Linked DNA regions of Homo sapiens: regions 1, 2, 3, 5, 6 and 7 are each linked to region 4. Evidence: promoter capture Hi-C in 16 types of primary human blood cells and fetal thymus (Javierre and others, 2016). All regions are on one chromosome and are shown on one strand. The core of a region is centred on a gene start or on the middle of the fragment in contact, and the rest is flanking DNA. Distances in the headings are between cores, read along the strand shown. Region 1 overlaps OSBPL8 (oxysterol binding protein like 8). Region 2 has its middle 8.6 kb from the start of NAP1L1. Region 3 overlaps LOC105369850 (a long non-coding RNA gene). Region 4 holds the start of ZFC3H1 (zinc finger C3H1-type containing). Region 5 has its middle 11 kb from the start of CAND1. Region 6 overlaps CAND1 (cullin associated and neddylation dissociated 1). Region 7 overlaps NAP1L1 (nucleosome assembly protein 1 like 1).

The links. The method cuts DNA at HindIII sites, captures the fragments that hold promoters and counts their contacts. A CHiCAGO score of 5 or more calls a contact.
Region 1: a fragment that was not itself captured here is called in contact with the fragment with the promoter of ZFC3H1 in region 4 in 1 of 17 cell types (non-activated CD4 T cells); the score reaches 5.6 in non-activated CD4 T cells.
Region 2: a contact is called between a fragment that was not itself captured here and the fragment with the promoter of ZFC3H1 in region 4, in 1 of 17 cell types (naive CD8 T cells). The highest score is 5.9, in naive CD8 T cells.
Region 3: a contact is called between a fragment that was not itself captured here and the fragment with the promoter of ZFC3H1 in region 4, in 4 of 17 cell types (activated CD4 T cells, non-activated CD4 T cells, naive CD8 T cells and 1 more). The highest score is 5.9, in activated CD4 T cells.
Region 5: a fragment that was not itself captured here is called in contact with the fragment with the promoter of ZFC3H1 in region 4 in 2 of 17 cell types (neutrophils and monocytes); the score reaches 11.4 in neutrophils.
Region 6: a fragment that was not itself captured here is called in contact with the fragment with the promoter of ZFC3H1 in region 4 in 1 of 17 cell types (activated CD4 T cells); the score reaches 15.8 in activated CD4 T cells.
Region 7: a fragment that was not itself captured here is called in contact with the fragment with the promoter of ZFC3H1 in region 4 in 5 of 17 cell types (activated CD4 T cells, non-activated CD4 T cells, total B cells and 2 more); the score reaches 8.1 in activated CD4 T cells.

What each region holds. Positions count from the first base shown.
Region 1 is chr12:76,546,477-76,550,120 of GRCh38, reverse strand. The region is part of intron 1 of OSBPL8 (oxysterol binding protein like 8); the gene reads left to right. Among named protein-coding and RNA genes, the nearest start is that of OSBPL8, 11 kb to the left of the region's middle. The HindIII fragment of the contact is 5,207 bases long and covers 1-3,644 here.
Region 2 is chr12:76,091,447-76,095,086 of GRCh38, reverse strand. No RefSeq gene overlaps it. Among named protein-coding and RNA genes, the nearest start is that of NAP1L1, 8.6 kb to the right of the region's middle. The HindIII fragment of the contact is 9,589 bases long and covers 1-3,640 here.
Region 3 is chr12:76,562,824-76,566,457 of GRCh38, reverse strand. The region is part of intron 2 of LOC105369850 (a long non-coding RNA gene); the gene reads right to left. Among named protein-coding and RNA genes, the nearest start is that of OSBPL8, 4.9 kb to the right of the region's middle. The HindIII fragment of the contact is 4,447 bases long and covers 1-3,634 here.
Region 4 is chr12:71,662,528-71,665,902 of GRCh38, reverse strand. It overlaps ZFC3H1 (zinc finger C3H1-type containing), which reads left to right and starts at 2,055. Exons shown (of 35, transcript NM_144982.5): 1 at 2,055-2,890. The coding sequence starts at 2,293. It overlaps THAP2 (THAP domain containing 2), which reads right to left and starts at 1,602. Exons shown (of 3, transcript NM_031435.4): 1 at 1,323-1,602. The coding sequence starts at 1,393. RefSeq lists enhancers at 1,593-1,952, 1,402-1,960, 2,313-2,432. The HindIII fragment of the contact is 1,665 bases long and covers 1,453-3,117 here.
Region 5 is chr12:67,256,306-67,259,915 of GRCh38, reverse strand. No RefSeq gene overlaps it. Among named protein-coding and RNA genes, the nearest start is that of CAND1, 11 kb to the left of the region's middle. The HindIII fragment of the contact is 5,325 bases long and covers 1-3,610 here.
Region 6 is chr12:67,278,317-67,281,739 of GRCh38, reverse strand. All of the region lies in intron 1 of CAND1 (cullin associated and neddylation dissociated 1), which reads right to left. Among named protein-coding and RNA genes, the nearest start is that of CAND1, 11 kb to the right of the region's middle. RefSeq lists enhancers at 2,760-3,259, 3,260-3,423. The HindIII fragment of the contact is 504 bases long and covers 1,579-2,082 here.
Region 7 is chr12:76,075,146-76,078,710 of GRCh38, reverse strand. All of the region lies in intron 1 of NAP1L1 (nucleosome assembly protein 1 like 1), which reads left to right. Among named protein-coding and RNA genes, the nearest start is that of NAP1L1, 7.8 kb to the left of the region's middle. The HindIII fragment of the contact is 2,004 bases long and covers 300-2,303 here.

The DNA of each region.
Region 1 (3,644 bases), core at 776-3,275, 4.9 Mb before region 4:
CCTCCCCTACACCCCAGCCCCCCCACACCCCAACTCTTCAGCATACTGCCTTTTGTGCTGCATTCTCTATTTATCTGTATTTGTCTGTAACTCTGCCTCCATTTGGACTCTTCTAGGTCTTTTCTTGTAACTTCCTTTCTCCTTACTCTTGAATTGGATCCATTCTGTTATACATATTTTTTTTTCCTTTTTTTTTTTTGCATCTGCTTGATCTGTTTATTGGAGTACATCTTCAAATAACTCTTTGAAAAAGAAGTATGTATGAGAGGCAAACTTTCCGAATTCTGTGTAAAAAAGTCTCCATTCTATTCTCACAAATGATTGATAATTTGGCTGGGTACAATATTGTTAGTTAGAAATAATTTTCCTTTAGAACCCTGAAAGGATTGCTTTGTTGTCTTCTAGCATCTAGGGATGCTGATTAGAAGTCATACATCAACGCCTGTAATCCCAGCACTTTGGGAGGCCGAGGCGGGTGGATCATGAGGTCAAGAGTTTGAGACCAGCCTGGCCAACATAGTGAAACCCTGTCTCTACTAAAAATTAGCTGGGCATGGTGGCAGGTGCCTGTAATCCCAGCTACTTAGGAGTCTGAGGCAGGAGAATCACTTGAACCTGGGAGGTGGACGTTGCAGTGAGCCGAGATCAAACTACTGCACTCTAGCCTGGGTGAGACTCCGTCTCAAAAGAAAAAAAGAAGGAGTCATGTATCAGTCTGATTCACTATCCTTTTAAGGTGATTTGTTCTTTATTCTGTCTGAAAACTTTTAGAATCCGTTCTTTTGTATCTTCTACAAAGTCATAATGAGGTGTATAGGTCATTTTTGTTTTGTTTGGCTGTTTGTCTAGATACTCAGTTGCTCTTACAGTCTGAATCAGATTATTTTTCCAATTCCAGGAAACTCTTCTCTGTCTTTAATAATTTCCTCCCTTCATCATGTTTTTTGCTTTTCAGTAGGCAGTTGCTTTCTGTCTTGATCTTCCTTCTCTCATCTTTTATATTTTGTGGGTTTTTTTTCCCCTTTAGTATTTTGGCTGATTTTCCTGGGGGTAATCTGTAAGTTTTGTTGTTCTCTTTTTCTTTTCCCACCATTTTTACACTATGTTGTATTGTCGTCTTGAGTCTTAGAATGTGCAAATTAGATTTTTTTAAAGATACCTTGTGTCTCCTTGTGTCTAATTTATCTCCTTTTCTCCTCCGGTCAGTTTTTATGTTTGTTTTTGTAATCATTCTTTTTTCATGCTCAGTTTTCCTTATGTGCCTGATAATTCTTGGTTGTCCATTCATGGTTAAGAAAGACAGACTAGGTTCCTGGTCACCCTCCCTCCCCTGTTCCTTGGACTGTTTTCCCTATTAGATTTTTTTTTCTTTGAGTAGGAATTCTGGCCAGAGCACTTTGTGGGGCAAGGTAGTACAGAGTAGGATCTGTCTCTTGGCAGATTGTTTTAGGGTAAAAGAGAGAGGAGCTAGCTGCTAGGCTATGTATGGGCCCTTTAAATGCTGGATGAGATGTGTTTACTCTGTGCCACACCTCCGCTTAGCTTTCCCTAGATAGTGGTTCACTTTCTTTAGGGAAAAGCTGACTTGTTTTTTTGCCTGGAGGTAAAATGTCAGTTGTTTAGAAACTGCTTGGAAATAGGGGATGGGAGATATAGCTGTCCCTTATAGTTAGTCAAGTAATACTCAGTTCTCTTATTTTTAACCCTACTATTTATTTCCACCCTCTGCTGTACCATTTACTTTATAATCATGCTTTCCTGGGGATCTTCTCAGACGTATTGGTTCCCATCCTTTCCATGTCACTCTTAAAGGTTATAATGAGGCTGTGGCTTTTTCCGCTTGTTATTTCTATCAATCTCACATATACTTTCATTTCCCAGAAATTTGTTGGATTTTCTTTCTAGCCTCAATTTTAATTTCTTTACTGTTACGATTTTCTTTCTTTTATGAGTTGTTTTTATTTCAGTGGAGTATCTGGAGTAACTGAAGGGAAAGTTTGTATTTAGCGCCCCATCTTTTATTAGAAGTCTTCTTCTAGCTTCATAAACAGAAGAAACAGAGCCTATTGAACTATTTTTTTGTTAATGCAGATTTATTCATAGAAATTATGATGATCATGATACAGTGTTAAAATACACTTATGTCCCTTCACTATTGATTTGTATAGTTGTTTGTGCCTTTATGCCGCTTGGTCCTAAAACTTGAACTCTGAATTCTTGCTTGCTTCATAGTTTTTGTTTCCCCTTTCGTTGTCCCCTACCCCAACTTGCATGTTGTTATGATTATCTTGCCATTTCTTGTTTGCTACTTGGAAACTGAATGAAACTGTTTAGAATTGTGTGTAAAATAGTGACTTTGCTCCAGGGAATGGCATTTTAGCTTTAAACACATGACCCTTGTGGCATTTTAATTATTTGGAAGTCTTTTGTTCTGTTTCTCAAGTGTATCTAGATGGGTGAGGGGTTATTCTTTTTCATTTACTTCTCTGCCTCATGTGTGATAGCTACTTTGGTTCAGTAGTTGATATTTTTTCCTCCATTGCTTTTCCTTGTCTTCTGTGTTATCTTTGGTACTTTAAATGTTGAGTTTAGATTGCCTGGCAAGTTCATTGGAAGCCTTAATTTTCATTTGTTCCTTTCATTTTCTACTCATAAAAATTTGCTAGCATTGTTTTATTCTTTTTTATTGTTTTGTATTTTTTGTTTTTTTGTTCCTAGCATTGTTTTAAACTTGTCTTTTACTTCTTTTCCCATACTCCTTTTCATAATCTTCAGGCTCCATATTGATTGAGCTTAGAATACTATTGTAAATTAACCTGGGTAAATAAATTTAAATACATTCATCTAATTTCCCTCTCTTCTGTGATATTTCTGCATTGGCAGAATGCAAATCTTGTTTAATTCTGCTCTTAATCTTGTTTAATCGTTTTCAATTCTTTTCTCATAAGATTTTGAAGTTCTTTCTTCTACAGCTATGGTTTTGACTATTGGAATGTGTGTCTTTTGTAATTGGAGTCGTAATTCTCCTGCAGTCAGAGGTTTTTACACGCCAGATTTAAAAAATGCTGACTACTTTGAAGTTGAAAATCCTGTCAGAGGGGTTGTGATTTGGAAGGCTTAAATCCCCAAATTTGGCCTGATTATATAAGGTATTATAGAACTTTCATAGTAAATACTGTACTTGTTTGAAATTTAAAGTAGCTTAGAAAATAATTGGCCCCTTTACATTTTTTTTAAATTTGCTCATTGTCCAGGAAGTCAAAGTTTTAAATATTTTCTAATGTAGTGGACTGATTACTGATGATCTTGTTACCTTTCTCTATATTCTGTGAAACTAGCTCTTGATTTTAGATCAAGAAACTTTTAGAATCAAGTGGTTATATACCTCATGCTTTATTTTTTACAGGTATTCTAAACATTTTCCCTCTCAGATATCAGTTGTCATGATTAATTTCTTGTTGACCGATTGAATCCTTTATTCCTTCTATTATGTTTATAATTTTGATACTTTTTTTTGCTATCCCTGAAATTTTAAATAGAATCTTCAAACATCAGATTGTACACCTTAAATATGTACAATTTTTTTATATGTCAGCAATACCTTAATAATGCTGCTAGAAAATAGAATCTTCAGCATTATATAG
Region 2 (3,640 bases), core at 344-2,843, 4.4 Mb before region 4:
TACTTATATCATTATGGACTCATGGATATTTATTTTACTCTCTGAATTATAATCCAATACTATCACTGTTTTGTTGGTTTTTTTGGGTTTTTTTGTTTTTGTTTTTGTTTTTTTGCTGAAATTGTTCCAGCTTTGGCCACTGGGGAACTCTTTCCAATTGCCTCTGGTGTCCTTTTGACCTCTCTCCTACTTTTATAATTTTCTTTTTTTTTTTTTTTTTTTTTTTTAGCACTATAAGATGTTCCAGACTCGTCTTGCGTTTTCCCTCCTTTAATTGGAAATGGTATTTAGAAACTAAGATTTGTGAACTGGTCATGCTTGTTGTTACTGTGGTGTCACTATGTGTTAGGCTGTTCTTGTATTGCTATAAAGAAACACCTGGCCAGGTGCCGTGGCTCATGCCTGTAATCCCAGCACTTTGGGAGGCCGAGGCAGGTGGATCATGAGGTCAAGAGATCGAGATCATGCTGGCCAACATGGTGAAACCCTGACTCTACTAAAAATACAAAAATACAAAAATTAGCCAGGCATGGTGGTGTGTGCCTGTAGTCCTAGCTACTTGGGAGGCTGAGGCAGGAGAATTGCTTGAATCCCGGAGGCAGAGGTTCCAGTGAGCTGAGATCATGCCACTGCACTACAGCCTGGTGACAGAGCAAGACTCCATCTCAAAAAAAAAAAAAAAAAAGAAAAAAGAAAGAAAAAGAAACACTTGGGGCTGGGTAATTTATAAAGAAAAGAGGTTTAGTTGCCACATGGTTCTGCAGCCTGTACAGCAAGCATAACATTGGCAGAGTGGAGTGGGGGAGGTACCACATTTTACCAGATCTCATGAGAACTCATTCCTCACTCACTATGGTGAGGACAGCCTCAAGCCATGAAGGATTCTGTCCCATGACCCAAACATCTCCCACCAGGCCCCACCTCCAACATTGGGAATTATATTTCAACATGAGATTTGAGCAGGGACAAATATCCAAACTATATCACATTGCTTCTAGGCTTCCTCAGTGGGCAAAGCTAGGAAATATATTAGCCTATGTATATATACATCTTTATTGTCCATCTATTTATCATCCATCTATCATCTATCTATAAGCATGAATTCATTCATACCTCTATCTCTGACCCTAATCCAGCACCCCATGGTTCATTCTAGCCTTCTCTCCTTGCTTATTTGTGACTTTTTCCCAGTAGCAAGAGACCTGGCTCCCATTATCTACAATTATTTAGTTATTTGCCAAACCCTAGTGTTAGGAGTTGAATTGTGTTATCCTAAAATTCATATGTTGAAGTCCTAAACCCCGGTACCTCATAATGTGACCTTACTTGGAGATAGCATCTTTACAGAGATAATCAAGTTAAAATGAGGTCATTAGGGTGGGTTCTAATCTGACTGATGTCCTTATACAAAAGGGAAATTCAAACAGACACACACATAGAGGGAGGCACAGGGAGAGGACAGCTATTTACAAGCCAGTGAGAGAGATCTGGAACAGATCCTTCACCCACAGCCCTCAGAAGGGACCAACTCTGCTAACAACTTGATTTGGGATTTCCATCCTCCAGGACTATGAGAAAATACATCGTATTGCTTAAGCCACCCAGTTTGTTATGGTAGCCCTAGCAAACGAATACAGATTTCCTAGTATACAGGGAAATTAGTTTCCAAATTGCTAATGCTTATTATCTCTTTGATAAATAAATTTATCAACTATAGTGCAATGTTTATGTGTAGCTCTTTTTGCCTTTAGCCTTATAGTGTCCAGTCAAAATACTGTTTTCGAAAGTCAGCTCCTTTTTTACTCACCCCCTCAGTGAGATTATATGTTTATAATTCAGTTAGATTAATTTGTCACAGTCTGCATCTCATCCTAGGATCCCCCAACATCTGGTTGATTTTCTGAAAAATTGAATATAGCAAATGGATTTTGCTCAATGTATATAGTCATATATCCACTACCTATAAAATATAGAACAATTCCATTATCTTTAAAAAATCCCCTCTACAACCCCTTTGGAGTCAACTCTGCACCTCTCCTCCAACCCCTGGCAATCACTGATGCTTTCTATTTTCATAGTTTTGCCTTTTACATATGCTGTAGAAATGGAATTGTAATATATAGAGTTTTGAATCTGACTTCTTTCACTTAGCAAAAATGCATTTGAGTTTCATCCATGTTGTTGAGTGAATTGATGCAGGACAGGTGAGCCCCAGAATTGAGGCTTAGTCCTGGAGCGATCTTGGCTTTGCCCAGGAAAGAATTCAAGGGTGAGTGGCAGTGTTAAATAACAACTTTTATTGAAGTGGCAGGGTACAGCAGCAGCAAAGGTACTCCTCCTGCCAGAGCAGAGTTACCCTACAGGCAGTGTGCCCAGAGTAGCAGCTCAGAGGCACTTCTGCAGTCCTATTTATACCCACTTTTAATTATATGTAAATTAAGAGGTGGTTATGCAGAAGTTTCTAGAATAAGCGTAGTAACTTCCAGGTCATTGCCATGGAAAGGGGTGGTAACTTTCAGGTGTTGCCATGGCAATGGTAAACTGACAAGCACACTGGTGGGTGTGTCTTATGGAGAGGTGCTTCCACCCTAGACCTGTTTTAGCTAGTCCTCAATTTGATCCTGATGTCCAAACCCCACCTCTGGAGCCAAGTCCTGCCTCCTACCTCAGAATCAGTAGCTCCTTTCTTTTTATTTCCATCGTATAAATGTGCCACTGTTTGTTTATCCACTCACCTGCAGAGAGAGATCTTGACTGTTTCCTGGTTTTGCCAGTTAGAAATAAAGTTGTATACGTGTGTGTGTTTGTGTGTGTACATAAGTTTTCAATTCACTTGGGTAACTACTCAGTAGAAGGATTACTGTGTCATATAGTAAATGTATATTAAACTTTATTTCATTTATTATTAAAATTTTTTTGTTGTTCATTTTTTGTTTTTGTTTTTGTTTTTGTTTTTTTTGAGATGGAGTCTCACTCTGTCACCCAGGCTGGAGTGCAATGGCATGATCTCAGCTCAGTGCAACTTCCACCTCCCAGGTTCAAGTGGTTCTCTTGCCTCTCAGCCTCCTGAGTAGCTGGGATTACAGGTGCCGGTCACCACGCCAGGCTAATTTTCTCTTTTTAGTAGAGATGGGGTTTTGCCATGTTGGCTAAGCTGGTCTGGAACTCCTGACCTCAGGTGATCCACCTGCCTCAACCTCCCAAAGTGCTGGGATTACAGGCGTGAGCCACTGTGCCTGCCGGCCTATTTTTAAATTTTTTTGAGACAGAGTCACGCTCTGTCACCCAGGCTGTAGAACAGCAACACGACTGCTCACTGCAGCCTCGACCCCCCCACATACACCCCTCCACTCCCCCCGGCTCAAGTGAACATCCCACCTCAGTCTCCTGAGTAGCTGGGACTACAGGCATGCACCACCATGCCTGGCTAATTTTTAAATTTTTTGTAGAGACAAGATGTTGCTGTGTTGCCCAGGCTGGTCTGAAACTTCTGAGCTCAAGCAAAACTCCCACCTCAGCCTCCCACAGTGCTAGGATTACAGGCGTGAGCCACTGAAGAAACTGCCAAACAGTCTTCTGAAGTGATTGGACCATTTTGCATTCCCACCAGCAGAGTTAAGAGTTCCTGTTCTTTTATGTC
Region 3 (3,634 bases), core at 289-2,788, 4.9 Mb before region 4:
TACTAGTTTGTAAAATACTTTGTCTAATGAGGTCTAATAGTAGGCATAAAATGCAAATTTGGTTGGGTCTATTTCTAATGTTAGATATGTGATTTTTTTTTCTTTAAAAAAACTTATTAAAATAATTTTAACAATACTTACTGTTTGTTTGCATTGTCAATTGTATTTAGATTTAGGCAAATATCTACCACTCTTAATGCTCTTCGTTTATTATCAACTCTCAGACCTTCCATTTGAGTTGATTTTCTTCTTCTTCTTCTTTTTTTTTTTTTTGAGACAGGATCTCTCTCTATTACCCAGGCTGGAGTATAATGGTGTGATCATGTCTCACTGCAGCCTTGATCTCCCGGGCTCAAGCAGTCCTCCTACCTCAGCCTCCCGGGTCAGGACCACAGGCACACATTACCATGCCCAGCTAACTTTTAAATTTTTTGTAGAGATAAAATCTCAATATGTTGTCCAGGCTGGTCTCAAACTCCTGTGATCCTCCTGCCTCAGCCTCCCAAAGTGCTGTGATTTACAGGCGTGAGCCACTGTGCCTGGCCTGGGATCATTTTCTTTTTGTCTGAAAAAAGAAATTTCTTTAGACTTTCCTTTAGCGAGACTCTATTAGCGGCAAATTCTGCTTTTGCTTGCCGGAAAATTCCTTTATTTTGGCCTCATTCTTGAAATAATTTTTTCACTGGGTACTGAATTCTAGGCTGACAGTCATTTTCTTTTAGTCCACTGAAGATATTATTCCACTGTCTTCTGTTTTTCACTGGTTCTGATGAAAAGTCATTTACCTGACACTTTGAAGATTAACTATATTTTTTCTTTGTTGCTTTTAAGGTTTTCTTTTTTGTTTTTGGTGTTCTACAGTTTCACTGTGATATATCTCAGCGTGGTTTTATTATTCTTTAACTTGCTTGGGATTTGGGAGGCTTCTTAAGTCTGTGAGTTGGAGTCTTTCATCAGTTCTGGAAAGTTCACAACCATTATCTTGTCAAATACTGCCTCTGGCCCACTGGCTCTTTCCTTTTCATCTGAAGTCATAATTAGATTTTAGAGCTGTTTACAATGTCCTCCATGTCACTTAAAGTCTCTTTTATATTTTTAATTTATGTTTTCTTTTTTTATTGCATTTAACTTCATCTTTATCTTCCATTTCATTGGCTTGTATTTCTGCTGTGTCAAATGAACTACTAAATTTGTCCACTGAGTTTTTATTCTAATCATTTATGTTTTTCAACTCTTTTAGTTCTATTTGCTTTTTTCAAAATCTTCATTCCTACTTTAGTTTTTTGTTCTCTGCACATATTTTCAAACTTGTCTTTTATTCCTTTACTCATATTTAATATTGTTATTTACAGTCTGTGACCCCTTTTTTTTTTTTTTTTGAGGTGGAGTCTCACTGTCGCCCAGGCCGGAGTGCAGTGGCGCGATCTTGGCTCACTGCAACCTTCACCTCCCGGGTTCAAGCGATTCTCCTGCCTCAGCCTTCCCAGTAGCTGGGATTACAGGCGAAATTTTTGTATTTTTAGTAGAGATGGGGGTTTAACCATGTTGGCTAGGCTGGGCTCAAACACCTGACCTCAAGTGATCTGCCTGCCTTGACCTTCCAAAGTGCTGGGATTACAGGCATGAGCCACCACACCTGGCCCAGTCCGTGACTTGTAAATCCAGGATCTGAAGTCTTTTAAAATTTGTTTGTGCTGTCTTAAGTCTGTACTGTTTCTCACGAATGGTGTCTTATTCTGTGCTTGTTATTTTTTTTTAAATGTGAGCTGCTCATTTTCCTTAAAATTTTATTTATAGTCATTCTTTATGGCTTAAGATGAAGGTGGGTTCCTCCAGAGAGGATTGGTATTTGCTTCTGCCAGGTTTCTGAGAGCATTATCAGTCAAAAATTCATAATTACGCCTAGGTACAGTGGCTCATGCCTATAATCCCAGCACTTTGGGAGGCGGAGGTGGGCGGATTACCCGAGGTCAGGAGTTCGAGACCAGCCTAGCCAACATGGTGAAACCCCTGTCTCTACTAAAAATAAAAAAATTAGCTGGGCGTGGTGGCACGTGCCTGTAGTCCCAGCTACTCGGGAGGGTGAGGCAGGAGAATTGCTTGAACCTGGGAGGCGGAGGTTGCAGTGAGCTGAGATCATGCCACTGCACTCCAGCCAGGGCGACAGAGAATCCCTGTCTAAAAAAAAAAAAAAAAAAAAATCTTAATTATTAGCCTGAAGTTTTTGGGGACCACCCAGCTAGTATGAATTCAAGCTACGTTTTTGTGTGAGAATTGGATTGCAGTTCCAAATTCTCAGATACGATTTTGCTTTTCCCCTGTCCACCAGGTGCCAAGGTTTAAGACGGCTAATTTTCTTTGTAGATTCTGGGGGATGGGTGCCTATGCTAGTAAGCAGCAAGTTTATTTCTAGTATATCCTTACATCAAATTAATAATCCTTGGAATTGCAGTTGTTTGTGTGTGTGTGTGTGTGTGTGTGTGTGTGTGTGTGTGTATAATGCAGGTAATGGGTTTTGTGTCTTTCTTACAAGGTCACGAAAACCAATGCTCCTAGTAACTGGGTTTAGCACATGCCCTTGAGATAAAAGTTGGCTGACTCTGCTAAACTCTAGGTTCCTGCCTTCATTTAGTTTTTTAACTTAATAATTTCTTACCCTATTGTCAGTTAATCAATATATTTAATAAGATTTAAAAAATGTTTTTTCCAGGGATTTTGTTTTCAGTGTGACAAGTGTGAACTAGTCCTTGATATTTCTAGAAACAGAATCCTATATTCTCTTTATACTTTACTATCCAAATTTTCCTCAAGGGATATTTAAGACAAATAATACTAAACAGAAATATTTAAAATCAGTATGTAAATATCTTACATGCAAACATTTTGCATGCAAATTTACAGATTTTATAAAGACTGCTTCTTAACATAAATTTTAGGTGGATATTTACCAAATAGCTGGTTGACTAGTTTGTAGATGTCTGTTATTTATTTTATTAAATAGACAAATATTATTGTTCCACAGTACATTTAGCCTTTGACTCATGAGTTTGTTGGCTCAAATTCACTTTAGATGATTTGCAAGATTATGCTACGCAACAAACAATCTCAAAAATATTTGTGATTCACAACAACAAATATTTTTGTTTTACTCTTGTTTCACATCAGTAGCCGTATGTCAGGAGCTGCAAGTCAGTTGCTTCAGTTCTGTACAGGGTGAGAGTTTCAGGTCTGCTCCATCTATTTTCTTATTCTGAGATCTTATCTGGAACATACCTTTCTCATGGCAGGTGGCACAAGAGTAAGAGATTGACCTGAATTTTGCAATCAAATTTAAAGCCTCTGCTTTGATTTAGCATTTAACATCTGCTCACAAAGCACTGGCTAAAGCAAATCACATGACCAACAAGAATACAAGTCTTCAAAGCTGTGTTGAATACCTTATTTATGGCTGAGGTTGCTCTTAATCTAAATTCTCTTCCAGAAAATGAGGATTTTAGTCTAGAATCCTGATTAGTAATTGTCAGCAACATAATTGTCTAATGGGATAAGCCAAATGGAAAAAAGCAAACAACCTCAAGCAACATCTCTGTCATTCTAGGTCAGGGTTGAAATATACTGTGGGAAAGGCTGTCAA
Region 4 (3,375 bases), core at 806-3,305:
CCTTTCTCATCAAGTTCATTCCCGATGATGCTTGACCAGCACTTTCAGTAACACTACGATTCTCTACACTGCAGCCAGAGGACTTTTCAATATGCAAATCTAATCGTGCCATTCTTTTTTAAACCCTCCATGGTTTCTCAAGTACTCTTAGGATAAAACAGAAAATACTTAAGTAGCACACAGGACCCAATCTGTCATCCTTTGGTCTCATTTGAAATGTCACATCCTTTGAAAAAGTGTTCTTTGACTTTCCAAGACTAAGTTAGGTCTCTGAATGTTTCTTCTGTGGCACTTAATTATTTATGTCTTTCTCCACCATTAAATTCTAAATTCCAGGAGGGTTAGAACTTTCTGGATCCTTAGCACAATGTCAGGTAATTAGGAACTCCGTACATATTTGATGGATGAATGAACAAAGCACTACATATGCATGAACTAGTTTAAAAACAGAAACATCACAAGATTTTTTTTAAGTGGCAGCTTTTAATAAAAGTACAGTTCGTAATAGGTAGGGAAAAAGGTCAAGGATATAATTTCTACATACTAACATATACGTTGTTAGGTATATAAAATATATAAAATCAGGACTGGTGTCACTTAACTTTTTAATGTGTCTTTTCTTCGGGCACGTGGCAGGCACTTGCAGAGAAGGTAAACATTTACAGAGTACCTGTTATTTTCCAGGCATTGTTCAAAGTGCTTTCAAGAGTTCTGGTTTGACAGAACTAAAGAATTTTGATTTTTCTTCCAGCAAACAAAAGAAAACCTAGGTTCTTTTTATTACTCTATTCTAGTAAGAACAGAAAGGTTATCTTTTGCACTTTAATTAACATCGCTTAATTCCATGGCTATCAAAGATGACTCAATTCCTCCGCAGAATTACTATGTGACTATTAGAAATCTAAATGCCTCCCATGTCAATTCATCTAGTGAGAATTTCCTAATTTTAACGGGAACACAGCAGGCTTTTACGGTGATTGCTGATTGGGAAGATCTCTTTCTCCCTTACGGCGTCATTCATGTCAAGGCCCGGTCTAACAGAGGAATAAAACAGTAGAAAATTACGATATCCTCCTGTTACTTTTTTTTACTAAGGGGTAATGACCAAACAGTACTTGGATTTCTTTTAGAAAATGAGTAAAGCTTCCCCGAAAGCAGAGAACAATTGGGCAGATTTGAGAAACACAAAGGACATACGATGCTTCCCTGCTACCAGCTGGGAAAGTTATTAGAATTAGCAGAATCCTCCTGTTCCTTCCACACAAGCGATAGCCACAATAGGAACTCCAGTTTCCGTCACCCCCACTCCCTGCCCAGGTTACCTGTGGAAGCTGATGTTAATGTGCTTGTTGTAGGTAGTGGCACAGCCCGCCGCAGCGCAATTGGTCGGCATTTCCCTTTCCCACTCATTCAGCGCCCTTAGGTCTCTACTGAGGCGCTGGCTGCTAAGCTTTCTTCTGGCAGAGGCTGGACAATCGAGGCAGGCGTGCCTTAATCGTGAGAGCTTAGTCGTGAGAGCGGAGTGGGAAGAAGGGGTGTGTATGTGGGGGCGGAGGCGAAGGACGGTCAGCCTTCCCTTTCTCTTTATTAATATGGCCGACTAGAGCCCACAGAACTGGCCCTCCTGGAGCTCTAGTCGCCTTCGCTTGACTTCACCAACATGGCGGACACAACCCGTTCTTTCTCCCCGCCCCCAAGAGGGAGCGGATCTACTGCGTTTCTTTGGCAGCGGTCCTCAGAGCAATTAAAAGGAAGAGGTGTTTTCCCCTCCGATTACTATAAATTACAAGAGTTTTACAATAAAACTCTCTCAAGGCTGCAACAGCAGCTCCACCTACTTCTGCATGCACCCAACTGTACCAAGCCAGACCCTGCGGTGGGTGTGACCCTAGGACCGGAAGAGTAAACCCGAAGAAAGACGAAAGACTACAAATCCTAGTGAGTATCGAGTTGGTCTTATTATCGCGTGAACTGGGAGCCTTTGTTTCCTGCGTGTCGCAGGAAGTGACGTTTCGGGTACAGCCGCTACCAGAGTCCCTTTCTCGCGAGGCGGAAGAACCCCGATCGCTGAGGAGCAAGGGGGCGCTAGGAAAGGGAACTGGGTTGCGACGGTCCGGCGAGAGAGAGCTGGGGTGCTGGGGTGCGGGGAAGTTGGGGAGCAGAGGCCGCTTGGTGTCCGAGTAGGGTAAGACCGCACCGACCCAGTCCGTTAGGAAAGAAGGGAAACGAGGCAATTGTCGGGCGGATCCCCGGACGGAGGGCTAAGGTTGTGTGGAAGGCGCTGCTCCCCGGATGGCGACCGCAGATACTCCGGCCCCGGCCTCCAGTGGCCTCTCGCCGAAGGAAGAAGGGGAGCTTGAAGATGGGGAAATCAGTGACGACGATAATAACAGCCAGATACGGAGTCGGAGCAGCAGCAGCAGCAGCGGCGGCGGGCTGTTACCCTATCCGCGGCGAAGGCCTCCTCACTCGGCCCGGGGCGGTGGATCTGGCGGAGGCGGTGGCTCTTCCTCGTCATCGTCCTCTTCTCAGCAGCAGCTGAGGAATTTCTCACGCTCGCGGCACGCGTCTGAGCGGGGCCACCTCAGGGGACCCAGCAGCTACCGACCCAAAGAACCGTTCCGGTCTCATCCGCCTTCTGTACGGATGCCTTCGAGCTCACTGTCCGAAAGCAGTCCCCGGCCGTCTTTCTGGGAGCGGAGCCACCTCGCCTTGGACCGTTTCCGCTTTCGAGGCAGGCCTTACCGGGGTGGGAGTCGCTGGAGTCGGGGGCGAGGAGTGGGTGAGCGAGGAGGCAAGCCGGGGTGCAGACCTCCTCTGGGAGGAGGAGCAGGATCCGGGTTCAGCAGCAGTCAGAGCTGGCGAGAGCCCTCTCCACCTCGGAAGAGCTGTATCCTTAACGTGGCGGTCGGCGCTGGGTGTGTCACTAAAGTTCCCTTTAGCGTCATTACTAGGTCTGTGAGACGAGTGTAACTTTGAATCATCAGAACCGCTTATTTCTCCCTGTGTCAGTATACTTTAAGTTGTTCTTTGGTAATTCCCCATGTGTCACACTATAGCGTTATTCTTAAGACTGCTTCATTGGGTATATTAACGTGCTGTGGATTGGGTTAAGCTTATGAAATCTAAGACAGTTAAGTCTGATTTGTAATAATACCTTAGAAGCCCAAGTTTCATTAGCATTTGTATTTTTGCTGGTACAGAAACTTTGTGTTTTATATGAAGTTGACTTGGATTGTTAGAGAAAAAATATTCATAAACAGTTTAAGTAATATTGTTGCTTTATCATATTGCAGTTTGACGTTGAAAATTGTAAAGTTTTAATCTGCACAGTCCTGCACTATTTTTGTGATTCTGTTTTTATCTTGATTTATT
Region 5 (3,610 bases), core at 11-2,510, 4.4 Mb after region 4:
AATCTCCAGCTCCCAGGTTCAAGCGATTCTCCTGCCTCAGCATCCCGAGTAGCTGGGATTACAGGTGCGCACCACCACACCTGGCTAATTTTGTATTTTTAGTAGAAACGGGGTTTCTCCATGTTGGTCAGGCTGGTCTCAAACTCCCAACCTCAGGTGATTCACCTGCCTCGGCCTTTCAAAGTGCTGGGATTACAGGCATGAACCACTGCGCCCGGCCAAAAAATTGTATTTTTATACCATTTATAACTTTTTACTAAAAGCAGATTTAATTTTTTAAATATATTTTTTGTATATTTTGTATGTAAAACTGTTTTTTAGTAGTTTTAGCTTTTTTTTCAGACAGTCGTGCTCTGTTGCCCAGGCTGGAGTGCAGTGGCACCATCTCCGCTCACTGCAACCTTCACCTTCTGGGTTCAAGCGATTCTCCTGCCTCAGCCTCCTGAGTAGCTGGGATTACAGGCATATGCCACCACACCTGGCTAATTTTCATATTTTTAGTAGAGACAGGGTTTCACCATGTTGGTCAGGCTGGTCTCGAACTCCAGACTTCGTGATCCGCCCACCTCGGCCTCCCAAAGTGCTGGCATTATAGGTGTGAGCCACTGTGCCCAGCCAAGTTTTAGCATTTTATAGATGAGAACCATTCTACAATTTTGGAATATGTTTTTCATATAATAAATTTTTTAATTGGAAATGGCACAGACATTTAATAAGCATCTATAATGATTTTAAGATTTTAAATTATGTACAAAGTTTTACTTATAAGCATTTATCTCATACATACTCAATTTTTTATTTTAATTGTTTATTTAGATTACTTTTGAAAACATTATATAGGGATGGTCATGATTTAAAGTTATTTTTTTCTTAACTATTTCAAAGTTTATGAACATAAGGTGTTTAAGAATTTAAACGTTAAACACATGGACATTTTGTTGATCATTTAGAAGATTTAGTTGCTTTTATTCAATATTAAGTGTTTCATTTATTAAAAATTATATAAGCAAAAATATTTTGGTTTTGGGTGGGTTTATACTTTTATAATTTTTATGCCAAATTTTGACACCTAATAATATTTGGCAGAGATGAATATGAAACCATTTAATCAATAAACTCAAACAAAAATATATGTTAATAGTTTTTTAAACATTTTAAATGTTATTTTGTTAATAATTTTTAAGGCAGGCTTATTTATCAAAGGTGCATGTGAACTTGTAAAGCATTTGGGCTTAATTTTATTTTTTTGAGACAGGATCTCACTCTGTCACCCAGGCTGCAGTGCAATGGTGTGATCATGGCTCACTGCAGCCTCAGCCTCCCCAGGATCAAGTGATCCTCTCACCTCAGCCTCCAGAGTAGCTGGGGCTACAGGCATCATCACTATACTCAGCTAGTTTTTATATTTTTTTAAGAGACAGGGTTTCGCCCTGTTGCCCAGGCTGGTCTCAAACTCCTGGGTTCAAGCAGTCCACCTTCCTCAGCCTCCCAAAGTGCTGAGATTACTGGCATGAGCCACTTCACCCAGCCGGGATTAATTTATGAGTATTCACTTACCTACATGTCAATTTGGTAGTATGTTAGACACAAGACAGAATGTAACTATTATATTATGTATCCATAGCTAAACATGTATACGTACATACACAAAGATTCAATAGCTTTTACCTTGGAGCTCTAGTCATGAGACAGCACCACCAACTCACGGACATATAAAAGATAGGTGACTCTTAGGTTATTTTTTTGATAAAATTGGAACCTGTTCACATGGCTAAACTTGGTTTGCCCTGCTAGGTAATCTAAGCAAGGCTGTGAACCAAAATCTGGGGTAAAGTAGTCTTTATGGCAGTTTGGTTTAACAAAACCTTTTTAAAATATATACTTTAAATGAGTTTTAATGTTTATATTGTAGTTAGGCCATAAATAATGAGTCTTCTCTCAGTACTAGCAGTTTAGTAACAGTAGATTTAAAGCAGGCAGGAAAAAGAAAGATAGAGTTTTATAAGACTCTATTTAACTCTATAGTGTAGGTTCACTCTTTGAGCTTTGAATTTTTTTGTTGTAATTTGTCTATCAGTTTAAAATGTGCAGAGAAATGGGCCATAATATGTAACCACTTGGAGTTTCAAAGAGAACGACAAAATTAGAGGCCAGAATGTTGGAAACTGTTTTTCCCTTTCAAGGCTAGACCCCTAGATTGAACAGAACAAGGGAAAGAGAAAAGAAAGGAATGGAGAGGAAAGAGGTCAAGTTTTACAGGAGGGCTTGTGAGCCTTTCAGCTACTGTGGGTGTGGGGTCAGTACCCCCAACCCACCCATATTTATCTTCCATCAGGGAGAGCCTTAGCACCCCAGACCTACATGGTGTGGGACAAATATCTCCCACCTCCACAAGTCGCCAGTCAAGGTGAGCCATTTCCAGCCAGAGGGAGTTAAGGGTGCTTTGGGCCCAGAGGAGTAAGGCTGTGGGTAGCTTCCAAGATAATCAAGAGGATGAAGTTGGAAGAAGGGGAAAGAGAGAGATCAGGGCCCATACAAACACAAATATCACAAAACGGCCCCCCAGGTGACAGAGTTGGATGTGAGCAAAGCCCTGAGGATGCCACAAATACAAACAAATACAAATGTATACAAACAGCTTGCTTCCAAACAAATCCCCATACGGGTCTGGGTAGAGTTCCACATTTCATATCTTAATTTTAACCTGTCCTCCTAGATGATTGAGTCGATGTGAGCAAAGCCCTGAGTGTGTCACAAGTACAAATGCATAAAAATGCCTAAATGGTGATGCCAGCAGCTAAGTCTAAACAGAGCAGAGCCCCAGCAACACCCCAGAAGAGGCAGAGGAAGGTTGGGTGCACACCAACAACTCAGTTCCAAAGTTTGTCAACTTCTTCAAAATGTCACTTTCTTTTTATCAGCAAAGCATTGGAAGCAGCAGATGCCACGGCAGGAAAAGAAAGGGAGGTTCCCTGAAACAAAGGTGCCTAGGCAGCTGCTGGGAGCTCCTCTAATGTTCTGGCCACAGGGTCAGCTAGCCACGAGCAGCTGGCACTCATAGGAGGCTCCATGCCCTGTCTGACAGGGGATCAGTCTGGCAAGCCCAGGGCCCCTTGGGAACGCATGGTGCTCTCCGTCCTGGCCACCAAAAATTGTATCCAGCAAAAGGGGTCCACGGTTTGTTGTTTGTGAAAAGAAGTCAAAATAATAATGAGGTGTGATAGAAAGAGAGCAAGACTTTATTATCCATGTTAGCAAGGATAAGAGCAGGTGGGATTCTTTCCAAAAATGTCCACTTTCCCTTGGTGGAGGGAGCACAGGTTTTTTTTTTTTGTTTGTTTGTTTTTTTGTAGAGAGGGGTTTGGAATGCGGGAGAAGAAGGGGGCTAGGAGTTGCCAGGTGGTGCGATCTGCTCCAGTTGCTTATTTTTTTTTTTTTTTTTTTTTTTTTTTTTTTGAGACGGAGTCTCGCTGTCGCCCAGGCTGGAGTGCAGTGGCGCAATCTCGGCTCACTGCAGGCTCCGCCCCCTGGGGTTCACGCCATTCTCCTGCCTCAGCCTCCCGAGTAGCTGGGACTACAGGCGCCCGCCACCTCGCCCGGCTAATTTTTT
Region 6 (3,423 bases), core at 581-3,080, 4.4 Mb after region 4:
AGGAAAAGAGCAATAATGTACTTAAAATTCATTGTATCCAGAGAGACGGTGAGACTTTTTAAGTACTGATATGCTTTTATATGAGGTACCACTATCCAAAATTATTTTCCCCAGGTCAGTCTTGATCTCAAATTGACTACCAGGACCTACAGTGAGTACTCTTTCATTCTAATTAATTGCATCACTGCTTTTAGGTGAGAAAAGTTCCTCTTTACTTTTTCTTTACATGAGATTTGAATTCTATCTAGGAAGCCCTTAACCAAAAACATTAAGAACACCTTCCAAACATTAAGAACACTTTCAAAACAAGTACGTTGCATTGCAGGGGATGATCACATATTACTGGAAATTTTCCAAAATACCCATCACTAGGTATCAGGCCTATTTTCTTTTTCATTCTCTTTTTTTTGTAGAGGGAGTCTTGCTCTGTCGCCCAGGCTGGAGTGCAGTGGCAGGATCTCGGCTCACCGCAACCTCCGCCTCCCAGGTTCAAGCTATTTTCCTGCCTCAGCCTCTCAAGTAGTTGGGATTACAGGCGCCTGTCACCACGCCCAGCTAATTTTTGTATTTTTAGTATTTACTATACAAAAATAATAATTTAGTATTATTTATAATAATTATAATTTATAAGAAATAATTTATAAAAAATAATTTAGTATTATTGTATTTTAGGGTTTCACCATGTTGCCCAGGCTGGTCTTGAACTCCTGACCTCAGGGAATCCACCTACCTCGGCCTCCCACAGTGTTGGGATTACAAGCAGGGGCCACTGTGCCCAGCCACCAGGCTTATTTTCAAAATAGTGAAGAGGTGATTCTAAAAAGTAGCTCTTCCCCCTGACATCGCCCACCTCCCCTCCCCTTAAGAACCACTGCCAAAGGAAGGTTTAACAGTGTGTTGCCTGGCAAAAACCCAGAGTGATCAATCATCTAATCTCAGCTTTAAATGAAAAGGACTGAATGGTGGCCAAGATAAATAGAGTCTCAGGTAAAATAAGGTATAAACGGCATCTCAGATTTTCTTCTCCACATGCCTTACCAAACAATTCATTGTTTTAAAAGTGATTTCTCAGAATATGAGATAATCACATTCAAATAAAGCCCTAAGACCTCCTTAAAAGTCAAATGAACTTGTCCCATAATTCTTGGCTCCCCTCCACTTACAGAAGCAATCCAACTAAGATAACTAGTTAACACTTTTTTCTTTTATTTGAACCAGATACAGTTTTAGTAAAAATACGTTATTTTGTACACTACAGAGAAATGTCAAAATCCATGTTTAAACAAAAAAACAACTATTGGAGCTGAATTGATAAACAGCTATGGAGATAGTCCGCAACATGGGAAATAAACTGTGTGGTAAAGGTTGGCAAAACAACTTAATAATTTAGAAATGCATTACATGTAAGGCAATTTTAAGGATAATTCCAATAACTAGTACGTTCATTTAATGCTGATCTGACAAAGTTTTACACTACATGCAAGTAGGTATTATGGTAAAAACCACAATTACTTTTGCACCAACCTAATAGTTTAATTCTTACCACGTTCTGTAAAACTGCTTATTTTTAAAAAAGCTTATATTTGCATTAGGGCAATACAAGATCAGTTAAGCACGTACTTTTAAAAAATGGACACAGCTCTCCTAATTGGAAGCCCCTCACCCATTTTATAATGTGACAAAACAAAATTAAAACTACATGACTAATTTTCATTAATATTCTGGAAAGTGGAAAAATTGCATAACACATTAATGCAGGCACTCCTGCACACAAAGTACTGAAAAAATCTTAACTGTTTTACTTAAACAAAATCCATTAAATAACCATAATAGTTATGACCTCTAAGAACCACTGCAGTGCCAGTTACCTGCTTCCAGAGAAAACAGGGATCATCAATTTAAGTAGAAAAACATAATCCCAAGTAAAAAGTTGTTTTATGGTCCTGTATGGTTCTACCGGCACAAATTCATTCTTTACTTATTGTTTATTTATTCACTGTCTATTATGTAAGAAACTCTGGACTAAGAAATCAGGACAGATAAAAGTTGAATACACTTTGGCCCCCCTAACATCAAGAAGCTTACTTATATTGTAATAAAGAAGCCTACTGATTTTCAAAAATCTATGATTAATGGTTAAATATTTTAAAAAGTTGAAATGAGCACTATCAAAATTAGCAATAGATATTTTTAAAAAGCAGAAAAAGTAGATTATTATAATACCAAGAGTTGCTTTTAAATGGTGACCCTGAAATCACAAAGTTCTGGGAATAATTTATTCCTTCTATAAATGTGGTATTAAAAATTTACACTATTAATCTTATTAAGGAAGCTGTTTGACCAGTTTGAAAGCTGTCCATGGCATGTCCATGTCTCTTCAGCATTTACTCTTTTAGGTATGGTGCTAAGGGCACAGATCTCAATACATTTTATAAAACACTACTCAAGAGCATATGGAAATTATCACACCCAAGAGTTGACTGTTAGGTTGGATCTCAAAGGATGAACAGGGGTTTGCATGGGAAAAATTGGTTTGGAATTTAAATTACTTTTTTTTTTTTTTTTGGTGGTGGGGAAGGACAGAGCACCTCAGAGTGAAGGACTAAGGAAACAGTTCAGTATGTGGAGCACAGAAACCTAATAGGAAGATGATGGGAATATAGGCTGAGGTCAAAATGGGAATGGCGTTATATACTCATACACTGTGTAATAAGAACCTACTACATATCAGGTACTGTACTAGTTTTTGCTGATATAAGGGCTAACCAAAGCACACACAATTCTTGCTGTCTTGGAGCTTACATTGCAGTCTAGTAAAAGGCATATTAACTTTTTAAATTGCATGTATGAGTAAGCACCTGTAGAACTAAGAACTAAGATAAATGCTATGAAGGAAAGTGTTATCAAGAAAACACTATGGGGCCAGGTGCCAGTGGCTCACGCCTGTAATCCCAGCACTTTGGGAGGCCAAGGCAGGCAGATCTCCTGAGGTCAGGAGTTCGACACCAGCCTGGCCAACATGGTGAAACCCTGTCTCTACTAAAATTACAAAAATTAGCTGGGTGTGGTGGTGTACACCTGTAATCTCACCTACTTGGGAGGCTAAGGCAGGAGAATCGCTTGAACCTGGGACACAGAGGTTGCAGTGAGCCGAGATTGAGCCACTGCACTACAGCCTAGGTGACAGAGTGAGATTCATCCCAAAACAAGAAAGCACTATCATATAAACAAAGTAACATGACCTAGACTGAACTGCGGGTTGTGTCAGGAAAGACTGATCTGAAGAGTAGGAGCTGGGCATGGTGGCTCACACCTGTAATCCCAGCACTTTGGGAGACCTAGGCAGGTGGAGGTCAGGAGTTCCAAACCAGCCTGGACAACATGGTGAAACCCCGTCTCTACCAAAAATACAAAATTAGCCAG
Region 7 (3,565 bases), core at 52-2,551, 4.4 Mb before region 4:
TCAGCTGTGTATCTTACTCTTAAGCCAGCCCATTTAGTTTGATTCATTAGTTTTATTTCTAGAAGTTCTAGTTTTCCAAATTTTGTTATATCACCTTTAATAGATGACTTCCTTGCAGACAGTGTGTTTTCAAACTTAGATCAAAGACAACCAGGCTTACTATGTCTGTAGGTATGTATTTGTTTATAGTCTGACAATTTTTAAGTCTTTGTGTAGGATTGATTTCTGTTATATTTTCTGTTTTTCCTGTTGGCTGTGAAAATTACTTGTATGAATTTTTTAAGGTCTAGAAGGAAGCTTTCATTTAATTTTGATATACAGGTGTCTGAATATACCAGGGACAGATCATTTTAAGTACATAGCTTGGGGTTTGGAGGGCAATACAGATGAGGTAAATTTGGGCTGTTTGTCCAGGAGAATGAATTTATTCTTGAGGATATAGCATTTTGGGGTTCCTGCTTAATTTGGGAGGGTTACCATAAAGATAGCCACCGTGGACAGGCCCAGAATTTTAACTTTGGTTAAAACCAAAGTTCACGTTGCTGATAATTGGCAGTTGACCTCAGTGCAAAAGTGCCTTCCTTCTGCTCCTGTTTTGCCCTCAGTTTTGGGCTGGTGATTCCTTACTATCTTGTTAGCATTTCAGTGCTTTTAAGATTTTTAACAAAATGTTTTTGTTAAAAAACATCTGTACTTTTAATTCTTTTCCTTTTTTTTTTTTTTTTTTTTTGAGACAGGGTCTTGCTCTTACCCAAGCTGGAGTGCAGCGGTGTGATCTCGGCTCACTGCAGCCTCCTCCTCTGGGTTCAAGCAATTCTCCTGCCTCAGCCTCCTGAGTAGCTGGGACTACAGGTGTGTGCAACCACGCCCGGCTAATTTTTTGTATTTTAGTAGAGACTGGGTTTCACCATTTTGCCCAGGCTGGTCTCTAACTCCTAAGCTCAGGCAATTCGCCTGCCTTGGACTTTCAAAGTGCTAGGATTACAGGCGTGAGCCACTGCGTCCGGCCATATTTTTCATTGGTAGAATTGATCTGCATAATCTAGTTTGTCGCTTTCAGGAATGAAAGTTTTTCACAGAGATCTTGGAATGCAATTTAATGTATAACAAATAAGATTCTCACTGATTTTATTTAATGTCAACTGCAGTAAAATATTAATACAGGTATTAACCTAAACTTGTGTTTCTCAATGTGGTCTACCTGAGAACCACCTCTCAGAAGCTGAGTTTCTTGTTTAGAATGCAGATTTTTGGGTCCCACTTCCTCAGATGTTTTTCTGCTTTATATAGATGATGAAATAGAGCCAGAAGTTGTTTGTCTTAGTTTGTAGATTGCTACAAAGTTGATGTCAGCCCAAATGATCTGACTACAACTGACTAGAAAATTAGGTCTATCTTACAACCAAGAAATACAATGTAGCCAGAATGGGCAGGTTAGAGCAGCCTTCTCTGGAGGAGTAAATGCCTCCTGTTAATGTTCTGTAAATGTTCTGTCTTGGATCCTCTTTACTAAAGTTTCATTTTAAGAATTTAAACTGTAAATGTAATGCTGCAAATGGACATTGAGGTTAGCAGTGTAGCCATTCTGTGAACACATTAAAATGTTACAAAAATTTAAATTTGGAAGTTTTAGGTTTTGTTTCTGTTTTTGACAATTGCTGGGTTTAGTAGACACTATATATTAAACCTAGCAAATCTCAGAATAAATTTGTGTATTGGAAATTATTATATAAATCTGTGTGTTGGAAAACCAAATGCAGTCATGCACCACATAAATACTTAGCCATTATATTAAAGTTGCCTATGGTATTCAATACAGTCACATGCTGTATAGGTGTGTAGCCTGGGAGCAATAGTCTATATCATAGCCTAGGTGCGTAGTAGGCTATACCATCTAGGTTTGTGTAAGTATACTCTGATGTTTGAACAACAATACAATCACCCAGAGACACATTTCTCAGAACATATAATCCACACATGACTGTAATGGTGAATGGGAAATTAGTTCTCATTACCCCCAGTCCCTTCTTTCTCATTAGGTTACTCTGGTTAGGTTTTTGGTGTTTGTTTTCAGAAAGGGTTTATTTGTATTAAAGTATGTGCGTATATGAGTGGAGATATATATATATATATATATATATATATATATATATATATATATTTCCATATCCAAAGGGGATTTCGGCATACATCCTATACCTTGCTTTAGTGTTCCTTCATATCAACTCAGATCTGTTTCATTTGTGACTGCAAAGCATTCCATTTTTGCATATTCCATTATAGTACTAAGTTTATAATAAGCTTTGTGTGCTACCCCAAAGAAGACAACGCTATGATTGTCAAGATCAGATTTAATTCCTGTAATCATGAATTTTGTCAGTTGGGAGAGACAGACCATAGGTCAAACTAATTTATAATTACAGACTGAGACATCTTATGGTGGAAAGAAAAGAAAGCTTTATAGGAGTGTGTGTACAACCAAGAAATCTTACTTAACCGGAATGTGCAGGTTGGAGAAAGCATCTCTGGGGAGTGAAACTTTGAAATGAGAGCCAAAGGATGTGCAGGACTTGTTCAGAGCTGTGGAAGAACCTTCTAGGTGAACATGGAAAGCAAAGGCATTAGATTCTTTATAATTTTTTCATGGTAGAGCTCATAAGTGAATAAATCTGGAGATGGACATATTTTGTTTTTTTAATTTTTATGTTTTTAAGAGACAGTGTCTCATTGTGTTGCCAAGGCTTGTCTTGAACTCCTGGCCTCAAGCGGTCCTTCTGCTTCGGCCTCCCAAAGTGCTGGGATTGCAGGTGTGAGCCATGGTGCCTGGCTGAGATGGACATGTTTAAGGCTTTTGATATTCCTATTGTCAGGTTGCTCTCCAGAAAAGATACGGGAACACTAGCTGGAAATAAGGATGCATGTGCACTACAGGTTTCCCTGTATTAAAAAGAAGTTATTGATGATGTGGTAGACAAACTGGAATCCTACTTGGATTTCTTTGATGTCAGAGTTCAGTATTTTTCTTATTTTTGATTAATATTCATAATTGCTAAACACTTTGTAAATGCTGACTCATTACCCAGCATCACTAGAAAAATTCATCAGTACTATTAGGAATTATTTATAACAAATACAAAATATTTACAGAGTTAGATACATTAGGAAGAATAATTTTCTTTATAATTACTCTAAAGGATAGATACTAGGTCAGTAATAATGTTTCCCCCAAATATTAGCACTTAACTGCTAAAATCAGGATGTTTTCCATTTTTAACTCTTTGTTCATAGGCATAATACGTTGCTATGAAAGTAAACACATGCAGGATTTTGTGAATTAAATATGTATTAAGATTTTAATTTTTACCAGATAACTTGATTCTATTTATTCATAATTTTTTTAGAGACAGGGTCTTGCTGTATTTCCCAGGCAGGCCTTGAACTCCTGTGCTCAAAAGATCTTCCTGTCTCTTGGGCAGCTGGGATTACAGGCTCTTGGGCAGCTGGGATTACAGGCTCGTGCCACTGTGCCTGGCTAAGATAAACTTGATTTTAACATGGATTCTAT